3 separate regions of the Homo sapiens genome follow, and regions 1 and 2 are each linked to region 3. The links are contacts of gene promoters, found by promoter capture Hi-C in blood cells and fetal thymus (Javierre and others, 2016). All regions are on one chromosome and are shown on one strand. Each heading gives the region's core, a stretch centred on a gene start or on the middle of the fragment in contact. The rest is flanking DNA. Distances are from core to core; before and after follow the strand shown. Region 1 holds the start of LINC02901 (long intergenic non-protein coding RNA 2901). Region 2 overlaps LOC124901446. Region 3 holds the start of SYNJ2 (synaptojanin 2).

Evidence for each region. Contacts are between HindIII fragments. The CHiCAGO score rates a contact against its expected background, and 5 or more counts as called.
Region 1: the fragment with the promoter of LINC02901 here is called in contact with the fragment with the promoter of SYNJ2 in region 3 in 5 of 17 cell types (fetal thymus, non-activated CD4 T cells, naive CD8 T cells and 2 more); the score reaches 10.6 in fetal thymus.
Region 2: a fragment that was not itself captured here is called in contact with the fragment with the promoter of SYNJ2 in region 3 in 1 of 17 cell types (fetal thymus); the score reaches 5.8 in fetal thymus.

Annotation. Positions count from the first base shown.
Region 1 is chr6:158,868,465-158,871,946 of GRCh38, forward strand. LINC02901 (long intergenic non-protein coding RNA 2901) reads left to right here and starts at 1,350. Exons shown (of 3, transcript NR_160980.1): 1 at 1,350-1,513. RefSeq lists enhancers at 324-996, 997-1,669, 1,570-1,739, 1,670-2,343 and a silencer at 1,170-1,489. The HindIII fragment of the contact is 6,622 bases long and covers 1-3,482 here.
Region 2 is chr6:157,376,293-157,380,143 of GRCh38, forward strand. LOC124901446 reads right to left here. Exons shown (of 1, transcript XM_047419644.1): 1 at 3,022-3,851. The coding sequence ends at 3,519. Among named protein-coding and RNA genes, the nearest start is that of ZDHHC14, 3.0 kb to the right of the region's middle. RefSeq lists an enhancer at 3,222-3,834. The HindIII fragment of the contact is 1,650 bases long and covers 1,538-3,187 here.
Region 3 is chr6:157,980,247-157,983,819 of GRCh38, forward strand. SYNJ2 (synaptojanin 2) reads left to right here and starts at 1,617. Exons shown (of 27, transcript NM_003898.4): 1 at 1,617-1,842. The coding sequence starts at 1,716. RefSeq lists enhancers at 853-902, 867-1,382, 923-1,112, 1,133-1,182, 1,383-1,898 and a silencer at 1,303-1,882. The HindIII fragment of the contact is 11,440 bases long and covers 198-3,573 here.

The DNA of each region.
Region 1 (3,482 bases), core at 100-2,599, 890 kb after region 3:
AAATGCCTGTTAAGCATTTAAAATGCCTGGCACATTGAAAGTTCTTTTTGGAGACAAGTCTTGCTCTGCCGCCCAGGCTGGAGTGCAGTGACATGATCTCTGCTCACTGCAGCCTCTGCCTCCTGGGTTCAAGCAATTCGGTGCCTCAGCCCTGAGTAGCTGGGATTACAGGCATGCGCCAACACGCCCACCCAATTTTTGTATTTTTAGTAGAGATGGGGTTTCACCATGTTGGCCAGGGTGGTCTGGAACTCCTGACCTCAGGTTATCCTCCTGCCTCGACCTCCCAAAGTGCTAGGATTACAGGTGTGAACCACTGCCTTTGGGCCAAAAGTACTTAATTCTTATTGATGTCCACATTCAACAATTACTAGGTTTGTTTTTTCTGCATCCAGCTGCAAATGATCTTCAAAGTTGTGAACTCAGGAAATCTCAGAGGCGTTTATAGGCTTTCCAACCAGAGATGATATTTGTAATTCAAAGAAGTAAATAGAAATCCTTAAGAGAACCCCTTTCAAGCTAAGTTCCCATCTAATATGGAGTGGTGGCTTCGAATGATCCTTTTGGCTTATCTTTTTAAGTGTAAGAATTTTTGATGAATCACACTTCGTACCTATTTGGTCACTTTCACCAAAGTACAAAACCAGTCTGCCACCAGAAGAAATTTAATAACCTTGAGACTCAGAGAAGCAATGCTGCCTGATTGGTGGACAGCCAGACCAGTGAGGGTCAGACGTGGCTCTTCGGCTCCGGACACGGGAATGTGGTGGAAATGAGATCCTCCAGCGATTCTAAGGAGTGTTTTGTTCTTCTGGCTTAAGAGAAGGGCAGAGGACAGAACCAAGGGGAAAGAGAGACAGGCCCAGCCATTGTCTGACGTGAGGCACGATAACACATTAGAGGGCTGGTTTAGCAAAGGGCAAGGTAGAGTTGGCATTAGACGCGCTTGCAAAGGGAGGCGGGCAAGAGCTTCAAGACGCGAATGACACTTGAGCAGCCTGGGCTCACGTCTGGTAAGGTTTACGCCGCCTGTTCCCGCCATCTGGCAACTCCCTCCCAGAAGGGTGAGTTTGGTTCTTGGCAAATCCCCTTCGGACACACAAGCTCTTTTATTAAAATATAACCCCACTAACAGATTGCAGACTAGGCACAGAAGCCCCAAAGCACCCCCAGAGACCGCAGCAGTCCCGCCCCGCCGCCCCCGGATCCGCGCGGCTGCCAGAAGCTCCCCTCCCCCAGATCTTGGCCCCTCCCTGAGGCGCGCGAGCGTGTCGTCGCCCGCTCCCGGCCAATCAGGGCGCGCGACCAAAATAGCGCCATATAAAAGCTGGATGGCGGGCGCGGCCGGTGCAGAGCCTCGCGCTGGGGTGGGGTTGCGCGCGCAGGTGAGGGGGGCGGGGCCGGCGCGACCGGCGGGGCGGGGCGGACACTCCCACCGCGCACCTGCTTCTGCCTGACGTGTACCCGGAAGGTCGTCAGCTCAGGCTCCAAATATGTAACAGTGAGTTTCTAAGTGAGTCACACGGACGCGGTTGGTTTCCAGTGAGGCATAACTCATCGCTTCACTCTTCTCAACGGTTCCCTCTTCGGAAGGAAGCGCAGTCCGCAGCGTCGTCCGAGGGCGTGATCGCCTGCGTCGCACCCGCGTCTCCAGTGGCCACCCCTTGTCCTACAGGAACGCGCATCTGCTTAGCAGGCGCTGAGCCCTTGAGGAGGCCTAAAATGAATGAACGCGGCTGTGCCTCCTGAGCAGGCTCACAGTTGTGGGTGGGGGACAGAAGGGTGTCCATGCCTAAGGTCGACGGCGATAAGACAGACGTTCTTCCCAGGAGGAGATCAGTTCCAGGTGGGAGGCATTTCTAGGAGTCACCTTTCTCCGAGGAAGTGACCTGAGCTGTAGGAGGTGGAATCACAAAGGCTTTGGTGCCCTACACACCTGGGTTTTAGCCTCAGCTTGAGTCACTCACCCAGTCTGTGACGCTGAACACATCAGGAAACCTCAAACTTTCCCCATCTTTAAGATGCAGATAATAGCCGGTCACCATGGCGTGTGCTTGTAATGGCAGCTACTCGGGAGGCTGAGGCAGGAGGATCTCTTGAACCTGGGAGGTGGAGGTTGCAGTAAGCCGAGATCGTGCCACTCACTCCAGCCTGGGCAACAGAGCGAGACTCCATCTCAATAAATAAATAAATAACACTACATGACTGATAGCATATTTTTGAGGAGCATCTCTCCCCCTCCGTGCTTGGGTTTAATCCCCCCTTCCTCTCTCCCTCCCTCCCTTCCTCCCTTCTTTCTTCCTTCGTTACGTTTCTCTTCATTTCTTTTTTTCTCCATCATTCCTTCATTTTTCTTATTTTTTCCTAACTGATATAATTTACACACAATAAATCGCACAGAAATTAAGAGGACAGCTGGGTGAAGTTTTACATATGTATACACATGTCATTAGCCCCTAGGTCAAGATCTAGAACATTTCCATCACCCCAGGTTTCCAACTGCTCCTTCCGGTCAGTAGTACTTCCCCAGAGGTAACCACTATTCATTTGGACTTAAATTACCAAGTATGAGTTGTGTCTACTCTTAAACTTCATGTAATTGCAATCAAGCATTATGCTTTATTCCAAACTTGTCCAACCCGCACAGGCCACGGTTTTGAATGTGGCCCAACACAAATTTGTAAACTTTCTTAAAACATTGCGAGATTTTTTGTGACTTTATTTATTTATTTATTTTTTTGAGACAGAGTCTCTGTTGCCCAGGCTGGAGTGCAGTGGTGTGATCTCGGCTTACTGTAACCACCGCTTCCCAGGTTCAAGCGATTCTCATGCCTCAACCTCCCGAGTAGCTGAGATTACAGGCTGGTGCCACCACACCTGGCTAATTTTTGTATTTTTAGTAGAGATGGGGTTTCACCATATTGGGCAGGCCGGTCTCAAACTCCCGACCTCAGGTGATCTGACCACCTCGGCCTCCCAAAGTGCTGGGATTACAGGCATCAGCCACCGCGCCCCGCCATGTGATTTTTTTTTTTTTTTTTTAGCCCATCAGCTATTGTTAATTTTAGTGTATTTTATGTGTGGCCCAAGGCAATTCTTCCAGTGTGGCCCAGGGAAGCCAAAAGATTGGACACCTTTGCATTTCTGTTTTTTTTCACCCACCGTAGTGTCTGTAAGATTCCTCCATGTTATCACACGTATCAGTAGTTTGAAGTTTGTTTATTACTGAATAGTATTCTATTGCATGAATATACTTAAGTTAACTTATCCTTTTTACCATTGATGTGTATGTGGGTTGTTTTCAGTTTTTGGCTATTATGCATAAAGCTGCTCTGAACATTCATGTAGTATGATGAATAATTGATTTTAGTAGGATATATACCTATAAAAGGAATTTTTGTGTCATAGGATGATAGGTGTATATTTAGTTTTAGTAGACACTGCTGGCAGTTTCCCAAAAGGATTGAATCAATTTTTGAAAA
Region 2 (3,851 bases), core at 1,113-3,612, 600 kb before region 3:
CCCCATTTCCCTGAGAGACTAACCCTTTCATATTCTTCCTGTCCAAACTGTCAAGGTCAGAGGTGCACTTTGCTACAGGCTGGGCCTGAGATTTCTCTTCACTCTGAAATCAAGATGATTTCTCTATTCCACTCAGTTGTTGGTTCATCAGACCGCGTGCTCTTTCCATTGTGTGGGGGATATAGGAAAGCTTGAGTCAGACATTCATACCTGGCCTAGAATCTTGACTCTATTACTTACTTACTGCAAAACCCTGGGCAAATCACCTAACTTCTCTGATCTTCAGTTTCCTCCTCTGTGAAATAAAGATAATAATCCCTGCCTCATCAGGTTGTCCTCCGGATTTAATGATCTAAATGTATAAAGAACCAGGAGATTGACTAATACAAAAATACTCTGGAGAAAAGATCATTATTTTTATAATATCGTTCTCTTGTATTATTGAATTTCTCATGTGCCTCCATCTTGTTTCCCAACCTTAACTGTAGTTTCTCTGCCGCATTTACCTTCATCATACTGACCTGCACGTGACAAGCACTAAACATTATCAATTTTCTAAAGCTTTAAAGTGCTAAAAGAAAAACTTCAGCTGAATTCAATTTAAAATAGTTTAACTGAGCAAAGAATGATTCATGAATTGGGCAGCCTCCTGAGCCAGGGTAGCCTCAAAGACTGCAGTGCAGTCGCGTGGTGGAAGAGAATTTATGGACAGAAAAAAGAAAGTGACGTACAGAAAGCGGAAATGAGGTACGGAAACAGCCAGATGGTTACAGCTCAGCATTTGTCTTATTTGAACATGGTTTGAACAGCTGGCCACAATTGAGTGGCCAAAACTCAGTAATTGACACCCGAGTAGATCACACTCTGTTTACACTTCCATTTAGGCTACAGTTCAGTGTACAGAGAAACCTTTAGGCCAAACTTAAAATATGTAAAGAGGCAGTATTAGGCTAAACCCCATTTAGCAAAAGTAGATCATGCACTCTTTCAATTCAATTCAAGACTCATTTTTGGATTATTTGTTATTGGCGAGGCATTCTCAAGGAATTTTTAGCAGGTCTTTTGACTTTTCAGTGTCCTTGTTTGAGAAATACAAGTTTTGGTCTCTAATTCTAGATACGCTGACGTCCCTCTAGCATTAAAGTTTGGAATCTATACATTCCTGGAGGGCAAGGACGGTGATTTTTCTTTCAGACCCCTCAACACTTACACCGATGGTGGGTACAGAGTGTGGCATACAGAATTGATGCTGGTGCACACAGAATGAATTCCTGTTCCTTTTTCCCTCTCTCCCTGGCCCTCGCTCCACTCCAGCCAGACTGGTTTTTCTTTGTACCCCTAGAATTTTCCAGGTTGTTCTGCCTTGAGGACTTGGTACTTGCCCCTTCCCATCATTCGATTCTCTGCCCGACCCCAGTCTCTCCATCCCATAACCCTGCTTTGTTTTTTCGTTCTTGTAATTACTCTCTGAAATTGTCTTACTAGTCATTTATTTATTTGTTTATTCTCTCCACCTCTCCCCCAGTCCCCAAATATAAGCTTCTATCTTGGATCTTTTTGTATCACTGCTGCTAAAACAGTACTTAGCACAATCTAGGCCCTGAAATAGATAACTGTAAAATAAATGAATAAACTCTACCATCCCTTATACAGTAGGTTTTACAGTCATCCCTCAGTATCCTCAGGAGATTGGTTCCAGGATCACCTGCGTATACCTGAATCTGCACATATTCAGGTCCTTAAACAGGCTCCACAGAACCTGCATATAGGAAGAGTGGGCCTTTGCCCTCTGAATACTCGCATTTCCCATCCCACGGATGCTGTATTTTCCATCTGCATTTGGTTGAAAAAAATCCGTGTCTAAGGGCATCCACGCTGTTCAAACCCATATTGTTCAAGATCAACTGTAGCTGGTGAGGTGAACTCTGCAGCTATCACACACCAGGTTCTAGTGAACGCTCTTAGGGGAGGGTAACCCATACAAGTGAATTAACCGCAGAGGTCTTAGTACACATGGAGTGGGAAGAAAAAAGTTATCCCCTGGAAGACAACTACAGACAATTGTATCAGCTATTTAGAAATCATATCAGCATATCTTATTTGCTGTGGAAACTTTAGGTAACATTTTAAAACGAATTCATTTCTTTTTATTATGGAAAATGTCAAACATAAACATGAGTAGATGTGGTAGGTAAGAAAAGCATAATGGACTCTCATGTACACTGTGGTGGATGCACTCCGGGGTGTCCCTCACCCTAGGGTTCATGCCCTGTGTACTCCTCTCCCTTTGAGTGTGTGCAAAACATGCTTTCTGGCCAACAGAATGTTCACATTTGAAGTTGCCCCCGTGGGATTGCTTTATGTTATATAAAATTCTGTCTTGCTGGAGACTCACTCTGGGGACTCTCCTTGCAGGCCTGACAAAATAAGTGGCTGTGCTCGGAAAGCCCAAGTGACAATGAAGTCCAGGTAACCTCTAGGAATTGCAGGTTCCCTCTTGGAGCTGAGGACAGTCTCCAGTCTCCAGCCAGCAAGAAGCCAGGGCCCTCGGTCCTACTGCTGCAAGGAAAGGAATTTTGCCTGTGCCCGGAGTCAGAGTGGAAGCCAGTTCTTCTCCAGTGAATGTGAACGCAGCCTGGCCAGCCCCTTGATGGCAGGCGTGAGACCCTAAGTGGGGGACTGAGTGTACCTGGACACCTGATCCATAAAAACTGTGAGAAAAATCTGTCTTGTTTTAAGGCCACTACGTTTGTGGCAATTTGCAGCAATAAATAATTAAGTACAAGTACATGTCACCCAAGGTCAACTATTTTCAACAGTTTCCAATTGTTTCATTTATACCTCCATGTCTGGAGCTGGGTGGGTGGGAGGAGGGGAGTGGATGGGCTGGTGTGTTTTAAAGCACATTTCAGACTTTATATTATTTCGCTGGCAGATACTTTAGTACATATCTCTAACAGACAAGGAAGGACTTTTTAAAAGCATAACCATAATGCCAGAAAAATTCGGTTTCATTGAGAATAAGAGTGGGAGTCTTTTTTAATGCCATCAAATCAATGGATCTATTATATTAATTGGACACCCACAGAAAAGGTGCTTGCAATAAACAGAATAAGAATAATACCCCGTTGATCTCATTAGCTAAAGGACAGGAAAGCATATGAGAGCTTTCACTTGAAATGTATGAAGCTTTCCAGTTGGTTTTTTAAAACTAGTCCAGCCACAAATACTTAATTGTCCCTGTAATATGCTTGTCTCTCATACAATATCTAAAATAATTAAAACCCAATTATTATCGTGTGCTTAAGATCCATTCTCCCTAGACTCTAACCGGCTTTGGAATGGACCCCTGTAAATTTCACTTGTATTCAAAACTCCTTGTAATTGCATGTCATACTCTAATTGCTATTCCCATCACTTTTTCCTTACCACAGCTCCTCCCAACTGGCCCTCTTGGATAAGCCAATCTCATCCCCCTTCGACACTCCTCACTGAGGCACGCTTTGTAAGGGACATACTTAGGGCTCTGGGTTCGATGCCATCTCTACTACTTGGGAGCTTTGTGATGTTTGGCCAGTAGTTAAGCTTTCTCTAAGCTGGATACAATAATGCCTCACCGGGTTCCGGCGAAGATTAGACAAAGAACATGTGTAACGTGCAAACTGCCCAGTACAGAGAAGGCACCGTTCCCCACAACCCCCTTTGTTGGTTCCCATCTCCCACCACCTAGCCCCAGAACGCCCAGCACCACGCCTCTCCTGCCCTTGTCGCGGGGGATGCAGGGACTTGTAGTTTCTAAGGCCCCGAGTCGTGCTTCTCCTCGGCGCAGGCCTGCGGGCGGAAGAACTACA
Region 3 (3,573 bases), core at 367-2,866:
GCTAGTTAGGAAAGAGGAGAGAGAGATAAATGGAAGACTGGGTCCCCTCCCTAAGGCCTTACCACTCAATTTGCAAAACAGGGCTAAGAGAAAACATAAAAACACTTCTCAAGCAACATATGAGTAGGTGAGAACTGAAGTCTGTAAATCTGGGTGTTATATAAGCACTATTATCTGGGACCTCAGCATTCCAGGAAAGCTTCCTGGAAGAAGTGAGTTTCAGGTCAAAAAGTGGGCCAAAGGCTGATCTGCCTCACTGAATGGGCACACTGTTTTCATGAGGTAGTAATGTTTCCATCTACACAGAAAGAAGCTGCTCGGACAGCTGATGAGCATCATGCCTGGGATATTGAGCACATCATGCTTGACCTGGGCAGAGTTTGTGGGCAAGGAAAGGGGCTAAGGGTCAAGATAATCTCTGCTGGGGTTGTTCAAATTTATTACCCAACCATCACCTGAGAGGTTGTCCCCTGAGGATGGCTTGTCTGGTCATTACTGAATGTCTGCAGGGGCATGGCAGTGTTCTGCTTGGCTCTGGGGGCTCTGCCCTTTCTAGGACAAGTCCCAGAGACAAACAGCTTGGCCCAGTACAGCAGAATGGGGTGAGAGAGGAACTGAGTTCGTTTGCGGGCAGGATGGAAACAGCTGATGGAGGCTTCTCGGGCCATCCTCACGTACCCATCACAAGCGAAGGGAATTAAGCCGCCAAACCACCCCAAAGAGTGACTCCAACTCAGCCCTAAACACCCATACCCACCCCACCTCCCCTGCAGCTCTGACAGGCCAAGCCTGGGCGCTAGAACCCCGCGCCAGAAGGCCGGGCCACACACTCCAGCGTACACGCGCGGACACGTGCCGGTGTCCAGAGCCGGTGGGAGAGGCGCTGTCACCATCTGACAGGAGAGGAAGGTGGAGCGCAGAGAAGTCAGGGTCACGTGGTAAGTGGGGGTCGTGGTCTGGGGATCACGGCTCCAGGTCTCTTCGCGACAACGCACCGTTGACCCCCAACACCTCTCCCTGGCGGGGTCGGTGACCGCAACAGCCTCCGGGATAGAACGCTAGTGAAAGGTAACCTTTCTCCAGCCCGCTCCACGCGCTCCGCACCCGCTAAGCGCCTCCGCGAATTAACTCAGGCCTCCGCGCCGAAGTAGGCGCAGTTATGACCCCGCTTCCCCGCAGGGAGACCGAGGCACGCAGGGTCGAAAGGACTCGTCCAGGGTCGCAGGAGCCGACCACACAGGGAGGCGCAGCGCCCCCGGCGGGAACAGTCAGCGGGTCCAGCCTGGCGGACTCCCGGGCCGGGCTGCCCATATAAGGCTGCGGGCGGCCGGCATCGCAGCCAGGCTCCCGGGGTCGCCCCGCGCGGGGCATCCTCCTCCGCAGCGAGGAATGCGTGGCATCCGGGAGGCTCTTCCGCTCCACGCCCGCCTGCGGGGAGCCTCAGCCCCGGGGCGCGGCCTCGCGCAGCTGCCTGGCCGCTGGGGGGAGCGCGGGGCCGGGCGGGAGGCGGCGGCGCGCCCTCACCTGCCCCAGGCTGGGGAGGCGCGAGTGGGGAGGAGGAGGAAGGGGAGGAGGCCGGGGAGGAGCCTGGCGCGGCGGGAGCGGCGGCGCAAAGTGAAACTCTGGCAAGTTGCGGGCGCGCGGGGAGCTGTCGCGGGCAGCGCGCCCTCGGGAGGACGTGGCCCCGGCCCCCGCCCGCAGTGGGCCCGACCCTCATGGCCCTGAGCAAAGGGCTGCGGCTGCTGGGGCGCCTGGGGGCCGAGGGGGACTGTAGCGTGCTGCTGGAGGCGCGCGGCCGCGACGACTGCCTGCTGTTCGAGGCCGGCACGGTGGCCACGCTGGGTGAGTCCGGGCCGGGGGCAGCGACGCCCGGAGGAGAGGGCGCCCGCATTCGCCCAGCCTCGGGAAGACGGGTACCCCCCCTTCCCGAGGGGATCGGGCGGCGCTGGGACTGCCGGGGCGTAGGGGTCGCGCGCAGAGGGGTGGCTGTTTGAATGAAGTGGGGCTGGGGACTCGAGAGAGCACTCTGGCTGGGCCGGTGGCGCACGGAGGCCGGCCGCCCCTCCACGGGGATCTCCGGCCCGCGCCGCCAGAGGATATGGTTGCTGGATAGCCGGCTGGGGCGCTTTGCGTATTCATGAGGATCCCGGGGTGTTGACTTAGCCGGCCTGACCCTGTGCCTGGCGCCTTTTCTTTTGCACCTGTTGATGAAACCAGTGATTGCCCTTTGGTTTGTGTTGGCGGCTCCACTCCTGGAGGGGATGGGGACAAAAGCCCCAAAACATAGGCTCTGGAGAAACCGCTGATGGCAGCTTTGTCCCACGTAAATACTTGGTCGAGAAGCATCGGTGCTGCAATTTATAGAACTTGTAAACAAATATACCATGACCTTTATGCTGTCTTAGATCCTGCCAAGCCAGCGAATTTCACCTATGGACTTCAGAAGCCTTGAAACTGGCATTGTGCTATGGGCTTTAGTACGTGATCTCACTTAATTCTCACAATTCTACTAAAAAGCTATTATTATCCCCATTTTGCAGATGAGCAAACTGAGGCCTAAAGAGGCTAAGTTGCTTGCCAAGGTGACACCATCCACCTGACTTTTATGTGGCTGTTTCTGTAATGTCATTCAATGCGTGGCTTCCTGGTATCGCTAACCTGGGTCCCTTGTTTTGTGCTAACCATTATAAGGAAAACCTGGGTAGCACCAAAGCACGTGAAACCAGGTCTGATTGTTAGACTTCTAAATGTGGACACCCGAGAGTAAGCTCCCACCACTAGGCGTCCAGCTGTAACAGCTTGCCGGTATTCCTAGCTAAACAAGGTGCAGCCCGGGGTCACTCGTACTTGAGGTGGTCGGCAAATGCAGCAGGCTGCTTTGTAGATGCCTCTAGCCTTCTTTTCACATTTGTATGCATCGACTCCCGTTCGGATGTATGTCTTGGAAGGACTATCTCTCCTATTTCTGATTCCCTAATCATTTCATTAACATGCATTTATCCAGCTTGTTCTCAGTCACTTGATTACTGAAACAATGTCTCCAGTAGTCTCAGCATCAAAAGTAGGCAGTGAATTGTAGATTAAGTTATTTTCAGATTATTCTAATTTGTGCTGTCCTGAAGAGTCTAAGTTTGGTTATTTGGTGTGGCCTTGAAAGAAAACCACAGAAATTTCCATTCCATTTTAGATGTCTACTTCATACCACATTTATCGGAAGCGAAAGAGTAATTTCATGGTACAAAACTACTGTTTCATCAAATAGATTAAGATGTCCTTCAGTTGGATTACGGCAACATTAAGCCAAGTTCATACACATTCAAGAATTCTTTGAAGCAGCTTAGAAAAAAGAGATTTTATTTTTTCAAAAGTGAAGATTTAAAAATGATTAATGACAGTAATGTAGTGCATATTTTCCATTAGGAGCTGAAGTTTGGGCTGAGATTTACATCACGGTGGTGATTACAGTATACCAGATTTTAGAACAGAGAATGTAAGAAAGGAATTGGCTCGTCTTCAACTCATGTGCAGTCCACATTTGTCATTTAACCTAGCATTCATTTTTCAGTAGAAAAC